Linked DNA regions of Homo sapiens: region 2 is linked to region 1. The links are contacts of gene promoters, found by promoter capture Hi-C in blood cells and fetal thymus (Javierre and others, 2016). All regions are on one chromosome and are shown on one strand. The core of a region is centred on a gene start or on the middle of the fragment in contact, and the rest is flanking DNA. Distances in the headings are between cores, read along the strand shown.

Region 1 (4,928 bases), core at 218-2,717:
TGAAAGAACCAGACCAAAAAAATATATACTGTATGATTCTACTTACATCGAACTGTAGAAAACGCAAACTAATCTGTAGTAACAAATCGGTGGGCCAGGTACAGTGGCTCATGCCTGTAGTCCTAGCACTTTGGGAGGCCGAGGTGGGCGGATCATGAGGTCAGGAGATCGAGACCATCCTAGCTAATACAGTGAAACCCTGTCTGTCTGTACCAAAAATACAAAAATTTACCAGGCGTGATGGCACGTGCCTGCAGTCCCAGCTACGCGGGAGGCTGAGGCAGGAGAATCCCTTGAACCTGGGAGGCAGAGATTGCAGTGAGCTGAGATTGTGCCACTGCACTCCAGCCTGGCAAGAGCGAGACTCCATCTCAAAAAAAAAAAAAAAAAAAAAAAAAAAAATCAGTGGTTGCTCGGCAGGGTGAGGCTGGGAAGGAGGAGTGAGAAAGGGGTGGGAAGAACTGCTGGGGTAGAGAGACTTGGTTAACTGGACTGTGGCGATGGTTTTTCTCTTACGCTTCACATGTGTGCAGTTTATGTCCATCCTCCTTCAGTAACGCTGTTGAAGTTGGGCAGCCTCCCCATATTGAGACAAACGGCATTGAAGCCAGAAGCATCCTAGGACTCCCTTTGCTCTCTACACATCAGGGGTTAGGTTTTATATTTCTCACCAAAAAATTAGAGTAAGAGATATTCTTAATTTAGAAATGTACCAGAGAATATTTTAAAAATCACACTCGGCCGGGTGCTGTGGCTCATGCCTGTCATCCCAGCACTTTGGGAGGCAGGCAGATCATCTGAGGTCAGGAGTTCAAGACCAGCCTGGCCAACATGGTGAAAGCCTGTCTCTACTAAAAATACAAAAATTAGCCAGGTGTGATGGTGCGTGCCTGTAATCCCAGCAAATCGGGAGGCTGAGGCAGGAGAATCGCTTGAACCTGGGAGGTGGAAGTTGCACTGAACCAAGATAGTGCCACTGTACTCCAGCCTGGGCGACAGAGTGAGACTCAAAAAAAAAAATCACACTCCTGACTAAAAATTTCCAGGAGGTCCTTTTAGTTTTTTGTGTTTGTTTTTCACACACAGACCAACCAACTAAAAAGTGACTGGGGAAAAAAAGGAAACACCACACTATATCTTTTTGAAATGTAAGTATACAGATTTTAATTTATTTTTAAGAATAATTGTATATTTTAAAAACAGGACACGTACTGTATGAGTAAACAGCGTGGCTAACACCAAGTCCACACTGGTAAGCTTTTGAGAACCATTTACACTATGTTGACAGTAGTACTGCTGCAGGCAGACAGCGGAAGAATAAATAATAGTGCTTCAAGAAGAGTAGTGATTGAGAGGATAGGTAAAGAGGGCGCCTCATCGTGGAAGCTAGAGCAGGAACACCTCCCCAGTAGTGACATGTGCAAAGTTCCAGATCTCCACGACAAAGACAGCTCAACCCATTGGAACAAACAGACTCCCAATGTGGCTGGCAACTGCGGGGGTAGAAGAACTCAGGCAAAGTAGGCACAGGAATGGGGGAGATGAGAGCCAAGGGACAAACGCCGAGAAAGCGTTCCGACAAGCATGTGTGTTCATACATGCATACCCCCAACAAAGGGCAATGCACTGTGTAACAGAACTGAACACAATTTAACAAAGCTGCTCCCAGCCTTCCTGTCACCTCTTTGGCAGTAGGGCAGGCCATCTCAACTTCGGACACACAAAGACATTCTCTTCAGGAGGAAGGCTGTCCTGTGTGGTGGGGACAAGGCTTCAGGTAAGAGCAAAGCTATGATAGCTACAGCATTAATTGAACATGCCTAAACAAAAAAGATGTTAATTACTAGTTACAGGTATACATGCCAAAATTACCCCCAGGGATGGGCATAGTCAATCATTTTCCTACAGTGGTGAAATAAAACAAGCTTTGATCATGCTTCAGCAAGTAGAATTATGTGGTAGAGAAGTCAGGCCCCATATGCTAAAATTTGCACTTCTTGCCATAAACTTTTCATGTATATAAGTCAAAACCAAGTCTCCTAGGACCACTAAACCTATGATGGGCTTTCAACTGTAACACTCATTCACATCTTTAAGTTAGGCCCATGGTCATGGAACCTGGCCAAGGTTTCAAGCACGCCTAAGCTGAAGAAAAACTAAAGTCACCCCCATATAATTAGGTCCAGTCTAGGCACAGGAAGCCACAGCTGGTTGACTGATCAGGGCTTCTCAGGACTGGATGTTGGTTGAATTGAGGATTCCAGAAGTAGCATCAGATTTGGAAGCCTTTGAAAGTTCTCGCTGTTGAAAAATAAATAACATCAGTGGCCATACTGCCTCTCTTACACATGGCCCACCCTTCTAAGTTTGGTTAAGTGTCAGCAAAAGGTCCCTTGAAGGTAGTTTCTCTGAGATCCCTAGCCTGCAATAGGCTGCGTTAGGAGTAAAAGGTGAGGAACTCTGAGCACCATTCTATTAGTCACAGACAGAGTGCATGTGCACGCATGCCCGTGACCCCTTTTTCCTCAGCCAGTCCATTCTGTTACACCTCACAGAAGAGAAATCCTTCATACAGTCATGCACTGCATAATGATGTTTCAGTTAACGACAGGCCACATACACTATGGTGGTCCCATAAGATTATACCATATTTTTACTGTACCTTTTCTATGTTTAGATACACAAATACTTACCATTGCGTTACAATTGCCTACAGTATCCCAGGAATAGCCTGAATCAAAAAAACCCACAATTGCCTACAGTATTCTTTCTGTAACATGCTGCCCAGGTTTGTAGCCTAGGAGGAAAACGCCATACCATATAGTTTAGGTGTGTAGGCTGTTCTGTCTAGGACTGTTAAGTACACTCTGATATGTGCACAATGAAATTGCCCCACATTCTCAGAACATATCCCTGTCATTAAGCGAGGCATGACTCTACTTCACAGAGCTACTTTAGAGTTGTCAAGGTAAGTAGGCAACAAGCTTTGGTCTCTTGAGCCCTTTATAAAACAATGGGCCAGAACATATATCTACCAATCCCTGGGGCTGAGGCCTTGTAACCTGCTGGTGATTTGATCTCATGCTGGAGCACATGGTAGAGCAGCAAAAGATAAAGCATGAATGGCTATTGAGAAAGACAGATATTAGCAGAGGTTAGTTTACCGGCTTTGGTGCTGCCTGGTGGAGTCTATCAGCCATAGCAACCCAAACCAGACGAACCTACCTAGGACTAGCCACACAGATAGGCAGGTACATTTAAGCCTCAGATAAAATGGGCCTTGGTTGAACAAGCGAAAAAGAGAAAGCTGGACCTCTGTCCAGCAATCAGCCAGAGTGACACACACCCACTTTTAAAGGTAGAAGCACCACCAGCCACGTAATTTGAAAAACATGCTGGAGTAGGAAGCCAGTTTCAGTGATCAAAACTAGCTGCAGCCTTGGCCAACTGTTCCATTCTCTATCCCTGCAGCAATTAAGAGGGGAGGCAGGCTAGGGGTTTAACTCAATATCCCCTCAAGGGTGAGGAACATCCTCTCCTCTTGCTAGTAAAATATTGAGAGAAGAAATCACAGATTAAGTAAAAGGCAGTGTAGTTAGGTGTTAGCAAATATAGAGTAGGATACTAGGAAGTGAAGAGCATTCTGGAAAAACTTGCTTCCAGTGCTTCATCTATGCTTCAGTAGCTCAATGTATGGAAAGAGGCAAAGGTGAGGAAATCAGCATTAGCTAGCTGAGAATAGAGCTGGCGGTTAAGCCCTGAGGGGTTAGGAAGGCATATACTCCAGGAAATAATCAGCACACAGGCCAAGAGCCTCATTGTAGGCAGCACACAGCTGGGGCTCCCTTCCCCATGTGATTGGGGGCCTCTATTCTTTCCAGCTATTGCAGGCCTTTGATGTCACAATTGGGGAGGGTCAAGGTTTTCTGTTAAACGTGATTTAAAACTGTGCCTGACTTTAGGGGCTGAGAATCCAATTCAAGTCTGAACAAATTTTATTAATTAATCTGTTGTGAATGTAAATCAGATGTGTTTTTTTGAGTCCATGATAGGAATTCCTGCTTCCTTTGTAACACTGCTGAGATTATTAGTTAGTGTAGCCCTGTGCCCAGATGAATGAAGCCAGCAGATGACAGATCAGTTTGGAAAAGGGACATGCAGGGATTGCCATACAGACCTGAAGCCCAACAGTGGAACTGTCAGAGAGGGACGGATCCTTCTAAGAACAAAGAATTAAGACAATTACCAAGAACTCCACCAAGAGAGCACCAGGACAGTGATAGAGGGGTTGCCTCCTGCAGCCAGGGAATGGTATGTATTAAGCAGAAGGATCCAGGTTAAATGTCTAGTTGCTGCTGCCAACTTCCTTCCTACACAACCCCCCCTTAAATCACACCCACCCTGCCATGGTCAAAGCAGGAAAGGGATTCTCAGCCTCCAAGGTAGCTGCCCTAGCTAATAGCCTGGGTGCCCCTGGGAAGATACCCACTCTGCCCCAACTGTGTGCTCCCCAGAGACTGGTAGATATTAGAAAAGGTGAATTACCGCAAACTCAGAATAGGTGCTGGCAACAGAATTAATGCTGAAGTTGCGCTGGAGGGGGGCCGAGCCAGGGTACCCACCACTCAGGATGCTGCCGTTGAGCTCCAGGTTCTCCTTGTTGGCTCCATGCCTGCCAGTACGGGGTGTTTTCTTCCCTGAACAGGTGGAAGCAGCGACTGGCTGCAGAGAAAGGAAAGAGATCCATGTATCATCCTTCTAATGAACGTGCACACGCACACACAATACCTGCACTGGTCAAAGGCTGAGACTATCTTTATATTCATGTCTATAATCCTATACTTTTTAGTTAAAAAAAAAACATATATATATATATATATATATATATATATATATATATGGGGCTGGGTGTGGCTCATGCCTATAAT
Region 2 (4,871 bases), core at 1,496-3,995, 1.1 Mb after region 1:
GCCCAATACATGGAGTTTTTTTTTTTTTTTCCTCCAGTCCAACTAGAAGCAGAACTATAGAAAAAGTCTCAGGTCACGTACTATGACAGAAGAGAGAAGGTGAAGGATGAGAGAAAATCTAGGAAGGCCCCTTGGAGGAGGTGGTATTTAAGGCAGGCTTTGAATGGAGGATCAGTTTTTGATGCACCGCTAGGGCCCTGGAGGAGAAGGAGAAACTGGGTTGAAGACCAGCATAAGCAAGGCCCATGCCCATACCAGACAGCAGTAGGGGCCATACTCGGTGCCCCAGAGGCCACACGGGGTACACCAGGCAGAGTTCTGTGCTGAGTGCTCACACTCGTGGCGGCATACAGTGCTGCTTTGGCTGGCTTTACGAGAGATTTGGGTTCTGTCACCATGCTCAGTGACTTTGGTCTGGCCACATTTGGTGAATGGCTGCCCCTCCACCTTCCAGGGTGAATATCAAATTGTGTCCATATTCTTCCTTTAGCCCATGTGCCCAGATGCATTTTTTTTGGGCGGGGGAAGGTAGGTATTTTTCATTTTTATGGATACATAGTAGCTGTGTGTGTGTGTGTGTGTGTGTGTGTGTGTGTGTGTGTGTGTGTGTATGGGGTACGTGAGATTTTTTGACACAGGCCTACAATGTGCAATAATCACATCAAGGTAAATGGGGTATCCATCATCACCTCAAGCATTTATCATTTCTTTGTGTTACCGACATTCCAGTGATACTCTTTCAGTTATTTTTAAATGTAAAATAAATTACTGTTGACTGTAGTCACCCTGTTGCAATATCAGATACTAGAGTTTATTCATCCTGTCTATATTTTTGCACCCATTAACCATCCCCACCTCCCCTGCCCCCTTCCCAGCCTCTGGTAACCATCATTCTACTCTTTACCTCCCAAATGCATTTTGGGTACCAGCTATTTCTTTGGTCAGTGCTGGTACCACTAGTGGTGCTTTTTTTTTTCTTTTTCTCCTTTTTTTGAGACAGAGTCTCGCTCTATTGCCCAGGCTGGAGCGCAGTGTTGTGATCTCGGCTCACTGGTGCGATCTTGGCTCACTGCAACCTCCACCTCACAGATTCAGGCAATTCTCCCTGCTTCAGCCTGCCTAGTAGCTGGGATTACAGGTGCCCACCACCATGCCTGGCTTTTATATTTTTAGTAGAGATAAGGTTTTCACCATGTTGGCCAGGCTGGTCCCGAACTCCTGACCTCAGGCGATCTGCCCACCTCGGCCTCCCAAAGTCCTGGGATTACAGGTGTGAGCCACTGCACCCAGCCCACTGATGGTGCTTTTTAATGAGAAAGTCTGGTCAAGGGCAGCAAGGGCAGAGGCTGGTTCTAGTCCAGGATTCTCAACCTGTCTGCAGGTAGAATCACCTGGGGACTTTGGGAAAAGCCCATTGCCTAGTGTGTCTTCCAGACCAGCTTCATCACAATCTCCAGGAGTGAGACCTAGGGATTGGTGTTTTCTTTTTACAAGTTTCTGAGGTGAATCCAATGTGCAGCCCAGTTTGAGCCCCATTGATGTATCTGATCTAAGAGGTCAACAGGTGCAGTAATGTGGGGAGGGGCACATATGCTCTGGCTCTGTCATGTACTGTGTGGATTTGGTAACATTAGTGTTTGGTTTTGTTTGTAAACTTTGTGATGGAGATAATTCTATTACACAGTGTCTAACACCTAATTTGTGCTCAATAAATGGTCACCTCCTCACCGTCTCCTTCCCTGTTCACCTCCTCCTCAGACATAAGCAAGGTCAGTTATGTAATGCTGGCAGGCTGTTGGCAGCAGGCACCAGATAAATGTGTATTGCAGGTTTCCTGCTGTTTATGGATCATGTTTTATTCATGCACATATGATGCAGAATGCTCCCTCTGAGGGGAGAACTTTGAGCCTGCAGATTTAAGATGTGGCAATACATTTATATAAATTGAGGAGACGAAGGCAAGTGGGTGATGAGAAACGCAAAGCCCTGACGGAGGGTTTCACAGGCATTTAGGAAGTGGAGGCCAAGGATGTTCAAGCAGCCTGGAATTGCTCTTTTTCCTAGGTCAGCACTGCCCTCTAGTGGGGCAGAGTCACAGCCAACCCGCGTTTCCTCCTCACTCCTCCCACTTGCGAGAACCATCTAGGGTTAAAATTACTCCAAGTCCAGCCAAAGAAACAGCCTAGGGAGACCAGCCATGCACGCCCCCATTCTTGGACTCATTGTTCCTGAAACACAAAGATAATTCTAGAAAGCTTCTATTCATGCCAGATATCAGAAGATTTGCATGCATTACATATAATTCTCACTGTTCTACAAGACTGATAACCCTTCTTCCCAGACTCAGAGTTGGGAAGTGAATCTTCCAGAAATTGAGAAATGTAACCAGGATTCCAGCCTGGTAGGAATCAGCCTTGGCTGATTCTCACGCCTTCACCACTGTGCCGTGATACCTGCTCTTTCTCTAGGAACTAGGTCCCGGAGTCCTGAGTTAAAATCCACTTCCACCATGTACAAGCTGTGTGACCTTGGTGCAGCTGACTGATCTCTCTGCGCTTCTGTATTCTCATCTACAAAAAGAGTCTCATAAACTCACCTTATCAAGGCATAGTGAGAATGATTGACCTTGAATAAATCAGAAGGGGCAGAGAAAGAGCTGAAGAAAATGACTGCCTCTGGATGGTAGGAAAACTGTGTTTTCCCCCTGCTGAATGCATTACTTTTATAATCAGACGAAATGATCACTTTCCTTGTAAAGAGGTAGAAGCCGTCACCCGTGTGTACCAGCCCTGCGAGATATTATAGGAGAGACCGTTTTCTTGTTTCCTCGAAGTTGAGTCAAGCAAATCTCAAGATTCCTCTAAAGAAAACCTCAGGCTTCCCCCAAAGGGATCTCTCATTTTGTCAAGTACAGAACCCTCAGCTCTGCCCTTCTGCTGCCCAGCTAGCTTGGTGCTGTCTCTGTCACTGCTAAGAAGTCAGGACTGACTGTCATGTGAGATCTCACTGTCCTCAGGTGCCCTCCCTTCCCACGTTCAGGAAGGGATCTGAGCAGAGGTTTGAGTGCAGGGCAGCGTGACTCCTGGGTACAGTAGGTTCTCCCTTCACCACTCTCCCAAGGACAGCTGAGAAGTGCCTGGTCCTTGCAGTTCCGTTCTATCAGCACCTGAAATTCTATTGCAATAGATAATTGTATTCTTCAGAAGTATGTTCTTCAGAGAATCGTATTTGTCTCTAAGCTTTCTGTCATTAGGAGAACTGTGTTGGGATTTATTAAAAATTACTCATAAGAAATAAGCCTTGTGCATAGAAACAGACGAGAAGGGAAGATCTAAATGCATGTCAGTGTTTCTGGGTGGTGAGAGATGGTGATTTGTGCTGTCATCTTTGTAATAATGATTGCTAAAATTTATTGAGCACTTACTGTATGCCAGGCGCTGTGGAAAGCCCTTGTGAGGCACTAATCACCCAAACCTCAAAACAATCCTGCGAGGTGGGTACTGTTAACCTCACTCACAGGTGAGAGTATGGAGGGCCAGAGTAGGTAAGTACCTTTGTCAAGGTCACACAGCCAGTGACTGCAGACCCTGGCCATGCAGCTCTAGGGTCTGTGTTCTTGGCCACTGTGTTATTCTGCCTCTCTACGCTTGGTTTATCCTCAGTCATCCTTAATGAGCATGTGCTGCTTTTAAAATGAAGAAAAGGGGTTTTGTTTGTAAATTAACTTACATGGTTCCAGGAATGATAAACGCATATGAAGAAAGACAGTACAAATATAATAATGCCTAAAGGGAAATATGAGAACGATGCTAATCCTTTACATGATCCTGTATTTTCCACATTCTCTAAAAAAAGCAGAGTTTACCTAAGTGATTTAAAACGTCATAAAAAAAGAAAATCCTGCTGTTAGAGGCACCAGTAAGAAGAACAAATAACAGCTGATGGTTTTTGAGAATGTCTGTGTTCCAGGAATTGATCAGAAGCATTCTGTGCACTACGTATTTGACCCTCAATAACCCCTTAGGAGGTAGGGATTGTTGTCATCCCATTTTACAGAGGAGGAAACTGAGGCCGAGGGAGCATTTGTACCATGCTCACAGACACACCAGTACAGCAGAGCCTTGACACCGATCCTCCCTCAAGGTCAGTAGTACCTCTCTGTCCTTTTCCACCCCAGGAGACCTTGAGGGTCAGAAACACGAATGGGTGCATCTAATTGCAAAGTGAGTAGGGGAGCTGATAGCAGTCCCTGGGTTTCTGGATGGCCTGTTTGGCTTTGCTCTCAGGGGCATAAAGAGTTTATGCCAGCAGGTAGCAGATGCCTGCAGCTCCTCGGGCAGCCTGTGCTCCTCTCACCCAGCCCCACAGGCTGTTCAACGCAGGAGCCATGCCCCATGCTACACTTTGACAAAGAGAAAAATAAAGGTTCACATGGAAGGGTCAACATTTTTCTCAAACAATGCAGCATGCACCACCATAGCCAGCCAGTGATAGTATCTCTTCCAAGAGCAGGCCTTCCAGTGAGCCTGCAGAAGCCGCAGGGCCAGGCGGAAGGAGGGAGAACAAGAATGGGTGCCATGGAGTCTTCCTCTTGGAGCATCAGTGGAAACTGATGTTTATGAAGTGCTTCATCTGTGCCAGGGCTGGGCCCCCACCATTGCTTTCATTTATTACTCACCACAGCCCTATAAAATGTCTTAGTAGCACACTACTTTTCAGATGCAGCAAACCAGCATAGAGAGGCTGAGGGGGCTCCCCAGGTTTCCAGGCAGTTAAGTTGGTAGTACTTGGACGCACATCCAGTCCAGCTGTAGAACCCACTCTGAATCCCACCCCACCTGCCCTCTGAAGGGCAACTGGGCTTCCCTGCT

Evidence for each region. The method cuts DNA at HindIII sites, captures the fragments that hold promoters and counts their contacts. A CHiCAGO score of 5 or more calls a contact.
Region 2: a fragment that was not itself captured here is called in contact with the fragment with the promoter of PRC1-AS1 in region 1 in 1 of 17 cell types (endothelial precursors); the score reaches 6.7 in endothelial precursors.

The regions. Positions count from the first base shown.
Region 1 is chr15:90,964,902-90,969,829 of GRCh38, forward strand. It overlaps PRC1-AS1 (PRC1 antisense RNA 1), which reads left to right and starts at 1,468. Exons shown (of 4, transcript NR_051984.1): 1 at 1,468-1,777. PRC1 (protein regulator of cytokinesis 1) reads right to left here. Exons shown (of 15, transcript NM_003981.4): 13 at 4,546-4,722; 14 at 4,178-4,219; 15 at 1,139-2,301. The coding sequence ends at 2,230. The HindIII fragment of the contact is 668 bases long and covers 1,256-1,923 here.
Region 2 is chr15:92,080,376-92,085,246 of GRCh38, forward strand. All of the region lies in intron 2 of SLCO3A1 (solute carrier organic anion transporter family member 3A1), which reads left to right. Among named protein-coding and RNA genes, the nearest start is that of SLCO3A1, 230 kb to the left of the region's middle. RefSeq lists an enhancer at 1,972-2,021. The HindIII fragment of the contact is 984 bases long and covers 2,254-3,237 here.